Regions from separate parts of the Homo sapiens genome. Here all the other regions are linked to region 4. Evidence: promoter capture Hi-C in 16 types of primary human blood cells and fetal thymus (Javierre and others, 2016). All regions are on one chromosome and are shown on one strand. Each heading gives the region's core, a stretch centred on a gene start or on the middle of the fragment in contact. The rest is flanking DNA. Distances are from core to core; before and after follow the strand shown.

Region 1 (2,700 bases), core at 164-2,663, 660 kb after region 4:
AAAATACAAAAAATTAGTCGGGCGTGGTGGCACACACCTGTAGTCCCAGTTACTTGGGAGGCTGAAGCAGGAGAATTGCTTGAACCCGGGAGGCAGAGACTGCAGTAAGCCGAGATCACGCCACTGCACTCCAGCCTGGGTGACAGAGCGAGACTCCGTCTCAAAATAATAATAATTCAACACAGGGTCTCATTCTGTTGCTCAGGCTGGAGTGCAGTGGCATGGTAACAGCTCACTGCAGCCTCAACCTCCTGGGCTGAGGTGATCCTCCCACCTCAGCCTCCTGAGTAGCTAGGACTATAGGTGCACACCACCACACCTGGCTAATTAAAATTTATTTATTTATTTAGTAAATAGAGATGAGGTCTTGCTATGTTGCCCAGGCTGGTCTCGAACTCCTAAGCAGCATCATTTTTTCTAGGTGTTAAACTGACAACCACCCAAATTCCCAGCATAAGGATTCTGCTTAAAATATCTAGCTCTCTGATGAAATATCTTCAAAGAATATTTAATGACCTTAAATCTCAGACAAAAAGGTAAGGAGACAAAATGAGGAACCCATTTCCGTACAACCCCAATTTGGAAAAACACATGTGCAAGTATGCCCATGTTAAAAAATATAGAAGAAAAAAAGGCTTTAAGGAAAAAAAAAATAATAGTAATGATTTAGGGTGGGAATCGCGTTAATATTCCCAATAATTTTATATATTTTAAAAATCTATAATTTTATCAGGGGAAAACGTTATGTTGCGGAAATTAATTGATCGATTGAGTGATTGGTTAACGGACAGTGTCCGATGACTCATATAATCCCCCGGTTCGAGTCCCTTTAGGCCGCAGACGTTTCGCGCCTTCTCGGGTGTCCAAGTCGCGCATCCATACAATGAGGGGTAATATACTAGATTACCTGAGGTCTTCTTACGGTAAAAACACCGGTGTCTTAAGGTTTCCCAGTGGAATTTGGGGGCCGGGTTGACTTCGGAGCTGGAGCTCGCAAAGGCCGGGGCTGCTGCAGATTCTGACGCTTTGTGGACCCCTACTACCGAGCGCAGCCGCACCGCAGGTTTTCTTCGCTGCTGGTTAGATCCAAAGCCCATCCCATCCTAGTAAACTGGGACAGCGCCGCTTCTCACATCACTATGGGGGCTTCTGCTCCGTGGCGGGGAAAGGCCAGAACTGCTGCCTTAAATACGCTTTTGCATCATCCGGTTGCTAACCTCCGGCCACAGCATTCCCCACTCCAAAATGCCACTTTTCCAGGTGTGTTTGCCTAAATTTACCCCATTTACAGACTTCTCAGGTGCATCATTGGGAACAGGGCGCTTTGCAGTTTGCAAACCACCTCAGACAACTCCAGGTTTAAAGGATAAAGGATGACATTGTGAGCAAAGCGGCATCAAAATTTCAGATATTTAACTTTCACATTCTAACCATACACCTTTCCAAGGTCTTGTAATACTTTCACATTGTGAATATACATCTTTACAAGACCCAGTAGTACATGGGTCAAGTGTGGCAAAACAGACATCGCGAGCCAGCCAGGAGTCGAACCTAGAATCTTCTGATCCGTAGTCAGACGCGTTATCCATTGCGCCACTGGCCCCGACTTGCTAAAGCCTTCTCCGTGATAGCTGATCACCCTTATACAGTTTGAACGGGCTTCCGGGTACCAACGATCCATTTTGCCCTTGCGCCGCGCTCCCGCTGCTCTGCCTTTCCCCAAAACGCGCCCCACCAATCCGCAGCGGCTTCGTCACGGCGCTCTTCGTCGCACTCCAACCCGCCGCGTCGGCGGCATCTCTCGCGTGCTCTTGCTTGCGCACTAATTTGTCCTCCACCGCCTCCCGTTCAGGCCGGCTCTCCTGCGGGGCGGGGAAAGGGGTGGGAAGAGGCTGGGAGCTGCGGCCGCTGTGCCAGGGTGACCGGTAGAGTTGTAGCCGAGGTGGCGGCGCGGGGCGGGGCGGGCGGAGAGAGAAGGAAGGAGGTGGTTGTGCAGGATGGCGACGGCGGCCTACGAGCAGCTGAAGCTGTGAGTCCCACGGGCCAGAGGCCTGAGGCGCGGCGGGCGGGGCGGCAGGTGCGGGCCCTGGCCTCGGGGAGGGCTTCTGAGTCCCGGATTGCAGATAGGGTGTGGGAGCTCCTCGCATTTACCGGTTTTCCTCAGCCGGCGCGGCCTCTCCTAGGCCTCGCCCGAGTAGCCATAGGCCGGGAACCAGCGGCTCGCCGGCCTTTCTCCACCGTGCTCGGCCCCAGCGCCCACGGCTGAAGAGAGAAGCTGCCGACTGGCCCCCACCGAGCCGGGGTCGGCGTTATGATGCGGCCCTTCAGGGCACGCTTGTCCCCACTTTCTATGCAGAGCTACCGACTAAATTTATCTGTATGACTTAACAGAGAAAAAGAGTTTTCTCTTACTTAACGGACCTACAGCAGCAATTTAGAGTCTACGCACAAATCAACAAATCTTTGTTTTGCTTACAGCCTATCTGGGTACCGAAGCCTGCCTGCCCCCTCTTCAGTGTGCAGAAAAAATTTAAAGTACAGTCAGTAGTCTTAAGGTCCTGAAGGAGTTTACTTTGGTTTAAATTTTAAACAGCTCCAGCCTAAAGCAGGTTCTTAAGTCAGTGTCGACAGCCAGAGGCTAATCTCGGTAATTTTGGTACTGCAAATTGACTTTTCGGTAAATCCAAGTTCTTGAGTCTT
Region 2 (2,700 bases), core at 1-2,500, 520 kb after region 4:
TCCTTTCCCCTAAACAAATGCAGCCATGCCCTTTACAGGCAGGAGGTTTGGTATTGGGCCGCCTGCCACTCTGAGGATGTTCCTCATTGTTTATCTTGGCTTTTCTCCTTCTCAGATCAACAATAAAGCTTGTGGCAAAATTCCTGTGCCCCAACAAGTTGCCCGGGACCAGGACAAAGTCCACGAATTTGTTCTTCAAAGCGAGCTGGGTGTCAGGCTTTTGCAAGGACGAAGCATCAAGAAGTCCTTCCTTTCCCCGAGAACTGCCCTCATCAACTTCCTGGTGCAAGATTGACAGCCAGGAGGCTGCAGCTACCACGAGGGCCTCTGAGGAACCTCCTTCCAGGCCTGGGATGAGGGGGCGATGTCTGCTGGCCCAGGGGAAGGGAAAAGACAAATGTCTTGACTGTTGACCTCGGTCCTGTGGCAGACTGCAGTCAACAGTGTGCCTCTGTAGTGTGGCCTGGTGCTGGGGTGAAGGTGAGCTGGGCAAAGGAGAAATATGAGCTACTGAGGAGGGGGTTGGACATCCTGCCCCTCACCCCCCACCCACACTGCAGGTAGAGGAGGCCATCTGATCCCATGGGAAGCCATCAGAGACACTGCTGGTGGGAGCAGGAAGGAGCAGTGCCCCTCGAGCAGCCAGGAAGCCTGCGGATCTGGGAAATGGCTCTGCCTTAGGCACTTCTCGGGAATTTGAGGCCAGCCTGAGGAACTGCAGGACTCAGGTGCAATGTGCCAGCCACTTGGAACTGCTAACTGAGCCTCCAGATGGTAGTGAATGGTCTCTTTGCCTTCAGGCTGGATGAGGAAGTCATTTAGGAAATGTTCAAATAACCAATATGTGGAAATGGACACAGGGATCTTCTGAAGTTGCTTTGAATCAAAAGGCAGGCAGTGCTGGTTCCTCTGCCTGTGTCCCCACCACTCCCCAGCTCTGTCATGCAGGCCTGTCCTCCCCAACCCCAGCTGGATGTGCCTCCCAGGCCTGCTGTGGTTCTGACACACAGGATCCCAGGCAAGGCACCACTTCCTCACATGAATGAGGAGCAGCAAGTCATAACCACTCCCTTGGGTATACAATTTGCTGTGTAGTGAAGTGGAACCAGGCTCAGGCTGCTGGTCCCAACCTCAGAGCCCCACCGCAGCCCAGTAGGGATGCAGCACGCCCCAGAGGGCTCATGTGGGCCCCAGATGGCAATGCCACCATTGTTGATGTGACTCCAGAGCCAGTTATTAGGAAGAGCAAGCTCACCACAGAGGAGTGGAACTGAGGCCCCCCAGATGTTGCCTCCGGTGTCCAAGCCACAGCGGTCTGGCTGTTGGGAAGATGGCCAGGAATGGACTCATACCATTGGCACATTAGGCTAATCCTGGTTTTATGTGAAGTCAGCAATTAAGTGTTCCCACTAGAACTGACCTAAGCCACTGATTAATATTTAATGAGGGAAGGTAGGGGAGAATCTAGCCATTTTATAATGCCAGAAATCTATATATGTTATCTGATGCCATTTTTCTGAAGTAGCCTCACATGTGGTCCCCCTGCAGTTCAGCAGTTAACAGATGACTTTTTTAGTGTAATAAAATGTTTATCATCTATGACTTCAGGACATATGTGTGATCCTGGAATACACCATATTCCAATTTCAGAGTTAATTACAAACAGATTGAGGTATTCCATCATCATCGGAAGCATTGGCTGTGTGTCTGACTCCACATGGAATGCTATAAAGTGGGATACATGTGGTTCTTCTTGTTCCAGAACTTACAGTCCATGGTAGACAACACTGATACAGGCAAACTAGCAACAGCAATTAAGTCACTGGTTCTCAGACTTAATACTCTGCCTGGTCCTCATGCCCAGATATTCCAATTTAATTGGTCCATGGTGTGGCTTGAACACCAGGAATCTTTAAAACTCCACAAGTGATTCTAATGGGCAGCAAAGTTTGAGAATCACTGGACACATTGATGCACTTGAGCCATCATTTCTATCTAGTTCTTCCTCTTCCTAATCTTCAGGTTAGCGGGGATAAGTTTGGTCCAGGACCAAGAGTTGGACCAAAAGGGAAGACAGGGGCCAGAAGTCTAGAGTGCTAGAGCCGACTTGAATGTACTCAGTCTCATTGCACATGGCAGTGAATATGGATTAAATATAAGCCCATGAAAATATTTGGTACAAGGAAGGAGTGAGTGATTTTGATTATCTTGTTATTTCCTAGTAAGCTAAGTGGTCTTGAACAAGATGAGGGAAGGGAGCCCTTTATTTGCATGTGATCTGACCAGAGCAATGGGCCAGTAAAGCCTCAAGGCTGCTAGACTGACCAGCTGGCTGACACCAGCATGGCTCTGAAGAAATTGCTCCAAGAGGATAAAGCTTTTGCAAACAAGAGCTCATCAGTACATACTAAGAGACAGTATGGGTAATGGAACAACTGGACAGAAAACTCTGACCCCTGGGAGTGAGGTGGTGGGGAATAATCTCAGCCATTTATTGACTGTCTTGTTGAGGTCAGAAACTGGACTCAGCAGGTTCACAATAATTATCTTATTTAATTCCCACAAAAACTCTAGAGGGAAGGAATTATTCTCTCATAAAAGAAGAAACCCAGGCTCTGAGGTTCAATAATTGTCTCAGTTTTCACAGCTAATAAGTAGGAGAACTGGGATCCAAGCCCACATCTTCTGTCCTCCACGTTT
Region 3 (2,700 bases), core at 105-2,604, 640 kb after region 4:
GCTGGTTTTGGAACTTCATATAAATAGAAACATATAGTATAGACTCTTTCAGGTCTTATTACATATGTTTTTGAGCTTCATCCATGCTGTTACCTGTATTGGTAGTTTATTGATTTGTATTGCTAAGTGGAATTCCATTGTATGGATATAGCACAATTTATTTCTCCATCTCATGTTGATGGGGATTTGGTGGTTTCTAGTTTTTTGCTATTTATGCATGAAGCTGCTGTGAATACTCTTGAACATGTCTTTGATGGACATAAACACTCATTTCTGCTGGTTATATGCTAATATTTATAAAACATCAGTGACCCACAGCCCTCCCCATTCGTGATGAATATCTGCTATCTCCCAGGCTTTGACAGACCTCAGCAGAGGTCTTAGCCCTATTAGAGCCATGTCCTCATTAGTAGCCAAGACCTCCCTGGGAAACGTGGCCCTTCCCCCATGCTCGCAGTGGGAGGTAGGCAGAAGCTACATATGCTTACCTCTCCTTCCCAGGTATCTTCTAGACTCTGTAGGGCTCTATTTCTTTAGCAGAATTTGCCTTTGTTTTTAGTGTCCTTCTGACAAACCTACTTCATATGAAGTCAACATGCTCTGAATTTATGAGTATGATTATACCCTATTCTTAGTTCTAGTAATCCTAAGACTTCTTTGGATAACCTCAGGGTATGTCATTTATCTATTGCTGCATGACAAACCACCCTAAAACTTTGTAGTTTAAAACAATAGTGATTTCTTATTTATCATCATGCTTCATGCTGTGGGTCAGGATTTAGGTCAGGGTTTAGCAGGCCAATTCTTCTGCTCTGTGTGGCATTGGCTGGGGTCTCCTACTTAACTTTGTTCAGCTGGTAGCACAGTTGAACTGGAACATCCAAGATGACCTCTCACCCTCCAGGCCCCTCTCCCTGTAGCCTCTAATCATTCAGTAGTCTAGTTCAGACTTCCTTACAGCAAGAGATAGGAAGTGGAAGCTACCAGTCTTCTTAAGCCTTTGACTCAGAAATCTCAGAACATTGTTTCTTCTGCTTTCTGTTAATTAAAGAAAGTCACAAAGCCAGTTCTGATTCAAGGGGAGGGGGAAATAGTCCCCATCTCTTGATGTGAGATCTCTACCATATGGGATAGTATGAAGTTGAAGCTTCAGTCTTTCAGGTCTTCCCTAGGACTTGAAAACTTTTAGTGAATGTCTAGACAGAACCCCAGCTGTCTAACTCTTTGTGTAAATTGTCTCTCTATATACCCTTTTGTTAATAGAGGGGTACATTCTGGGCTTGCAGGTTAGAACCAGGCATAGTCTCACATAAAAAAAGTATTACAGCTAGTCACAATGCAGCAAAATGGCATCTTTTTCTAATCTTACTTTAGGCACAATGTGGATTAAATTAATTTAAGGATCTCTTTCTGCCAAGACAGCATTCATCTTGGGGAAAATGCATTCCAAGGTCCAAATTGCCAAATGGGTTTTGGAAGCCCAGCCAGTTGTTCTTCCTGTTTTGCCTTACTGCAGATTGAGAGGGCCCTCAAAGGTTAGGGAAACCCAAGAGGGAATGAGGAAGCTTGAAAGCTGAGCATTCAGAGGAAAGCTGGAATAGCACAACGCCCTCCTCTTGCCTTCTTGGCTGGAGCTTGTGCAGTGTGGAGTTATCCGCCTGAGGCTTCCAGGGGAAGGAGCTGTAACACAGCATATCTTTACCCCTGGGTCTCACAGTGTACTGACAAGGCTTCCCCAAATCCAAAATCCCCTTTCTTCAGCCTGTTTGAAGGCTTTCTGTGTGGGCTCCCACTGCTGGATGCTGATGACCGTTCTGTACATTCTTTGCAGATGCATGTTTTGGTGTGACCTTGCTCATGTTGATTCTGTAGTTCAGTTGTTTTTGCTAAGTTTCATGATGCAGGTAATTGCAGAAATGAATCTCCTATTAAGTCAGTGAAGATGCTTTCAACTGCAAATTATAGAAAAAACCCAGACTCAGTTCGAGTTAAACCAATGATCCTCCAACTTTAATATATATCAGAATCACCCTATTAAAATACCAACTGCTGGGCCTTACCCCCAGAGTTTCTGATTCAAGAAATCTGGGATGGGGTCCAAGAATGTGCATTATTAACAAGTTTGCAGGTGATGCTAATGCTGAAGGTCTGGGGCCACACACATTTCGAGGACCACTGACTTCATAGGAATGATATTTTATCTCACCTAAAAAGAGGCTTGGAGGTATGTGGTTCCATGATGAGTTAATTCAGTTACTTACGGACCTCACCAAGGATGTTCTTTCCATCTCTTCTCTTTCCTGCTGTCCATGTCTTGGGTCTGTCCTGGTTTCAGGTTGGCTCTGGCAGTTCCAGGTATCCCATCCAGATCCAGATTAAATGACACTGAGAGGAAGAAGTTTGTGGGGCTTTCCCTCTATTGCGTTTAAAAACAACAACAGAGAAACTTTACTTATTACACTTGGATTTGAGGTCATTGGGTTGAGTCAGAACTTCTAGATTATCATGCTCCAGAGTCAAAGCTGCATAGAAGGGGCATCCAAGAGGCAGAAGTGAAGGGGTTCCTTTTGAGCTCTGCCATTTCCACATGGAATTTCTTTTCATTTTTCCGAGTACTTGCTGCTTCCCAAATCTGGGAAGGATGTATCCTTCTGTGGCCCTGCTTTGCATCGTTTCCCACTTCTTCGTGGTGGATTTTGG
Region 4 (2,700 bases), core at 95-2,594:
ACTATGTTGGTGCTCAAATTGTCCCTGATTCTGACCACTGAAGGCTCCTTCAAGCTGGCTCTGTGTCCTACTGACGTGTTCCCATTATTCATTAAGCACTTCCTTGTTTTCTGGCAAAACAACAAGTTCCGGGCTCATTTTCTGCACCCCACTCCTACTTCCCAGTGCTAGAATCAGCCGTTTCTGCAAGGTGCTCTGGTTCCTTTAGTGGAAAGTCATATTCAGAAGCCAGTATTCAGGTGCTAGGAGTGCTCCAGGCTATGCGGGGCTGGCTGCTCCAGGCCCCCCAGTGACTGTGGGGACTAGACACACACACATTTCCATCTATATATATGGACTTATCTTTATGTATTCAAGGCCACAAGGGTACACTGATCATTCCGATTTTAATCCCACACAACAGGATTCATTCCAGTTTTCTCTCCATATACATAACTTCCTTCTCTGACAATAGGAAACCTAACTCCCACTGTCTTCAGTAGATTTATTTGATCAGTATCCCTGTGTGTAACCAATCTCCCGTCTCTGCCACCAGCCTCTCTCCCACATGGATCCCCTCCTTGCCTCACTTGGACTCCAGCACTCCAGGCAGGGCCTTTGCTTTCCCCAGGATGCTCCCTCCACCCTGCTGGGCTCCCACACCCCACACCAGTCCACCCCTTGAGGGCACATTCTCCCCACATCCTCTCTGGTACCTCTGGGGCACGATGGCTTCTCCCTCCGCCACCTTTGCTATGCCCCACTTTGTGGCTTTAGGACAGGACTCAGGAGAAAGGGAAGACAAGAAGGGAAGGAATCCCTTGGATTTTTTAACCAAAAAATGCATCAAGTACATGGAGACAGAGCCACAAAATAATCATAACAAATATTCTAAACCAATCAGACAGCCAGCCCCAGATCACCCTATAAGGGGGCATTGCTACCCCGTGACAGCTGGGTAGCCTGGGCAAATTCCCTAACCTCACCGAGCCTCAATTTCCTCAATGGTAAAATGGGGAAAGGACAGTGCTTCCCTCGTGGTTTGGGTGTGAAGCTTCTGTGAGTTAATGTTAGTGAACAGCCAGCCTCAGCCCCTACCCAAGGTAGCTGCTCCGCAGATGTGATGACAACCACCGTGTGTTTCTCAGAATCCTAGGAAATAAGGGCTTCTTTCTAGAAGGCAGGGCCAGGATGCTGCGTGGGTGTTCCCTGGCAGAGAGGCTCTGTGGCCCTCAGGACTTCATCCTTCTGCAGGCTTGTGTGTTTGTTTTATTTTTTTGGCACGCCTGCAGCCAAGTTGGGGAGGGTTTCCTGGACAGAGGTCCTTTGGCTGCTGCCTTAAGACGTGCAGCCTGGGCCGTGGCTGTCACTGCGTTCGGACCCAGACCCGCTGCAGGCAGCAGCAGCCCCCGCCCGCGCAGCAGCATGGAGCTCTGGGGGGCCTACCTCCTCCTCTGCCTCTTCTCCCTCCTGACCCAGGTCACCACCGAGCCACCAACCCAGAAGCCCAAGAAGATTGTAAATGCCAAGAAAGGTAAGGAGGGGGACAGAGCCCTGTGCCATCTTCCAGGGAGCAGGTCCCCCTCTCCTTAGTGTGTCCTCATGCTCCTTTCCTTCATTTTCCTCCTTTTGAGTCATCTAGGGAACTTGAGTAAAGTGGGCTTTGGGGCTTGGGGGAGTTCTCTCATAGCAGAGTTGGTTGTCAGAATCATAAGAATCCCTGACCCTTAGAGTTGGGAAGAACCTTCCAGATCATCCAAACTGATCTTTGCTCTTCTCTCCTCCCCTCATCCCCAATATTTTAAAGAAACCAAACCTTTGGCCTGGGAGTCTGGCAGCGCTCAGCCCTTACCAGGGAGAGCTGCACAGGCTGGGCTTTGGAGTCTTCCAACCTGTTTTCTCAACTGTAAAATGGGGACAGTGGTATTTGTTCAAAGACTTCTCATGAAGATTTTATGATACAAAATATATAAAGGCACCTCACTTGTTGCTTGATGCACAGGGAAAAGAAAAAGAAGAAGAAATGAATTCTCATTTCTGTAGCATATCACAGCCTTCAGGAAATAAATGTAACTCAGACTAGTCCACCAGAAGCAGCTTTGCTCTGCTTTGTAGCCTCTGGGGATTGGGGTGTCCCTCGGTTGCTTTGGCTACAGCAAGACTTGCCCTTGCAGCCCCGCCTGCAGTGAGGTCACCCCAGGCTGTGTTGAGACAACATCAGTGGAATGTCATGGCAATGGACGGGGCTGTCACCCCCCCAGGGAGCAGAGGCTAGAAGAGAGTCCAAGGGGATGAGGGTGGGGACTGAGGCAGAGAAACAAGCAGCTAGGACCAAGGGCACAGAAAAGGAAAGAAGGGGCTGTGGGGGCCTCCCTTAGGCCCTCCCGGGGCTCTTCATAAATGGACAGTTGCCCACTGGCCAGGAACTAGTGCAGTGCATAAAGGGACATCGGGGCCATGGGGCCTCACAACACTGTGACAAAGAATGGGGCAAATCTGGCTGCTGATAAAAAAATCATCTTCAAGATTCAGTTTACAAAGTGAAAAAAGAAACATTCAAAAGAGAATGAGTATGATGCTGACATTTGCTTTGAAAAAGGGATTTATATAATAATACATTTTTACTTGTATGTGCATAAGTTCTTTCTGGAAGGATCCACAAGAGTGAGTAACAGTGATTACCTCTGGGAAGAAAAACCAGGGGCTGGGCGCAGTCTCAAC

Evidence for each region. The method cuts DNA at HindIII sites, captures the fragments that hold promoters and counts their contacts. A CHiCAGO score of 5 or more calls a contact.
Region 1: a contact is called between the fragment with the promoter of LIMD1-AS1 here and the fragment with the promoter of CLEC3B in region 4, in 2 of 17 cell types (fetal thymus and naive CD4 T cells). The highest score is 5.5, in fetal thymus.
Region 2: a fragment that was not itself captured here is called in contact with the fragment with the promoter of CLEC3B in region 4 in 1 of 17 cell types (erythroblasts); the score reaches 5.6 in erythroblasts.
Region 3: a contact is called between a fragment that was not itself captured here and the fragment with the promoter of CLEC3B in region 4, in 1 of 17 cell types (erythroblasts). The highest score is 6.0, in erythroblasts.

What each region holds. Positions count from the first base shown.
Region 1 is chr3:45,687,469-45,690,168 of GRCh38, forward strand. It overlaps LIMD1-AS1 (LIMD1 antisense RNA 1), which reads right to left and starts at 1,414. Exons shown (of 3, transcript NR_033947.1): 1 at 908-1,414. It overlaps SACM1L (SAC1 like phosphatidylinositide phosphatase), which reads left to right and starts at 1,928. Exons shown (of 20, transcript NM_014016.5): 1 at 1,928-2,029. The coding sequence starts at 1,998. TRR-ACG2-1 (tRNA-Arg (anticodon ACG) 2-1) reads right to left here and starts at 1,603; the gene lies at 1,531-1,603. RefSeq lists enhancers at 730-799, 1,310-1,359, 1,620-1,909 and a silencer at 1,940-2,119. The HindIII fragment of the contact is 5,339 bases long and covers 1-2,700 here.
Region 2 is chr3:45,547,236-45,549,935 of GRCh38, forward strand. LARS2 (leucyl-tRNA synthetase 2, mitochondrial) reads left to right here. Exons shown (of 22, transcript NM_015340.4): 22 at 116-2,172. The coding sequence ends at 295. Among named protein-coding and RNA genes, the nearest start is that of LARS2-AS1, 39 kb to the left of the region's middle. The HindIII fragment of the contact is 2,249 bases long and covers 127-2,375 here.
Region 3 is chr3:45,669,642-45,672,341 of GRCh38, forward strand. All of the region lies in intron 4 of LIMD1 (LIM domain containing 1), which reads left to right. Among named protein-coding and RNA genes, the nearest start is that of LIMD1-AS1, 18 kb to the right of the region's middle. The HindIII fragment of the contact is 418 bases long and covers 1,146-1,563 here.
Region 4 is chr3:45,024,959-45,027,658 of GRCh38, forward strand. CLEC3B (C-type lectin domain family 3 member B) reads left to right here and starts at 1,345. Exons shown (of 3, transcript NM_003278.3): 1 at 1,345-1,513. The coding sequence starts at 1,405. RefSeq lists enhancers at 1,725-2,226, 2,227-2,700. The HindIII fragment of the contact is 8,892 bases long and covers 1,032-2,700 here.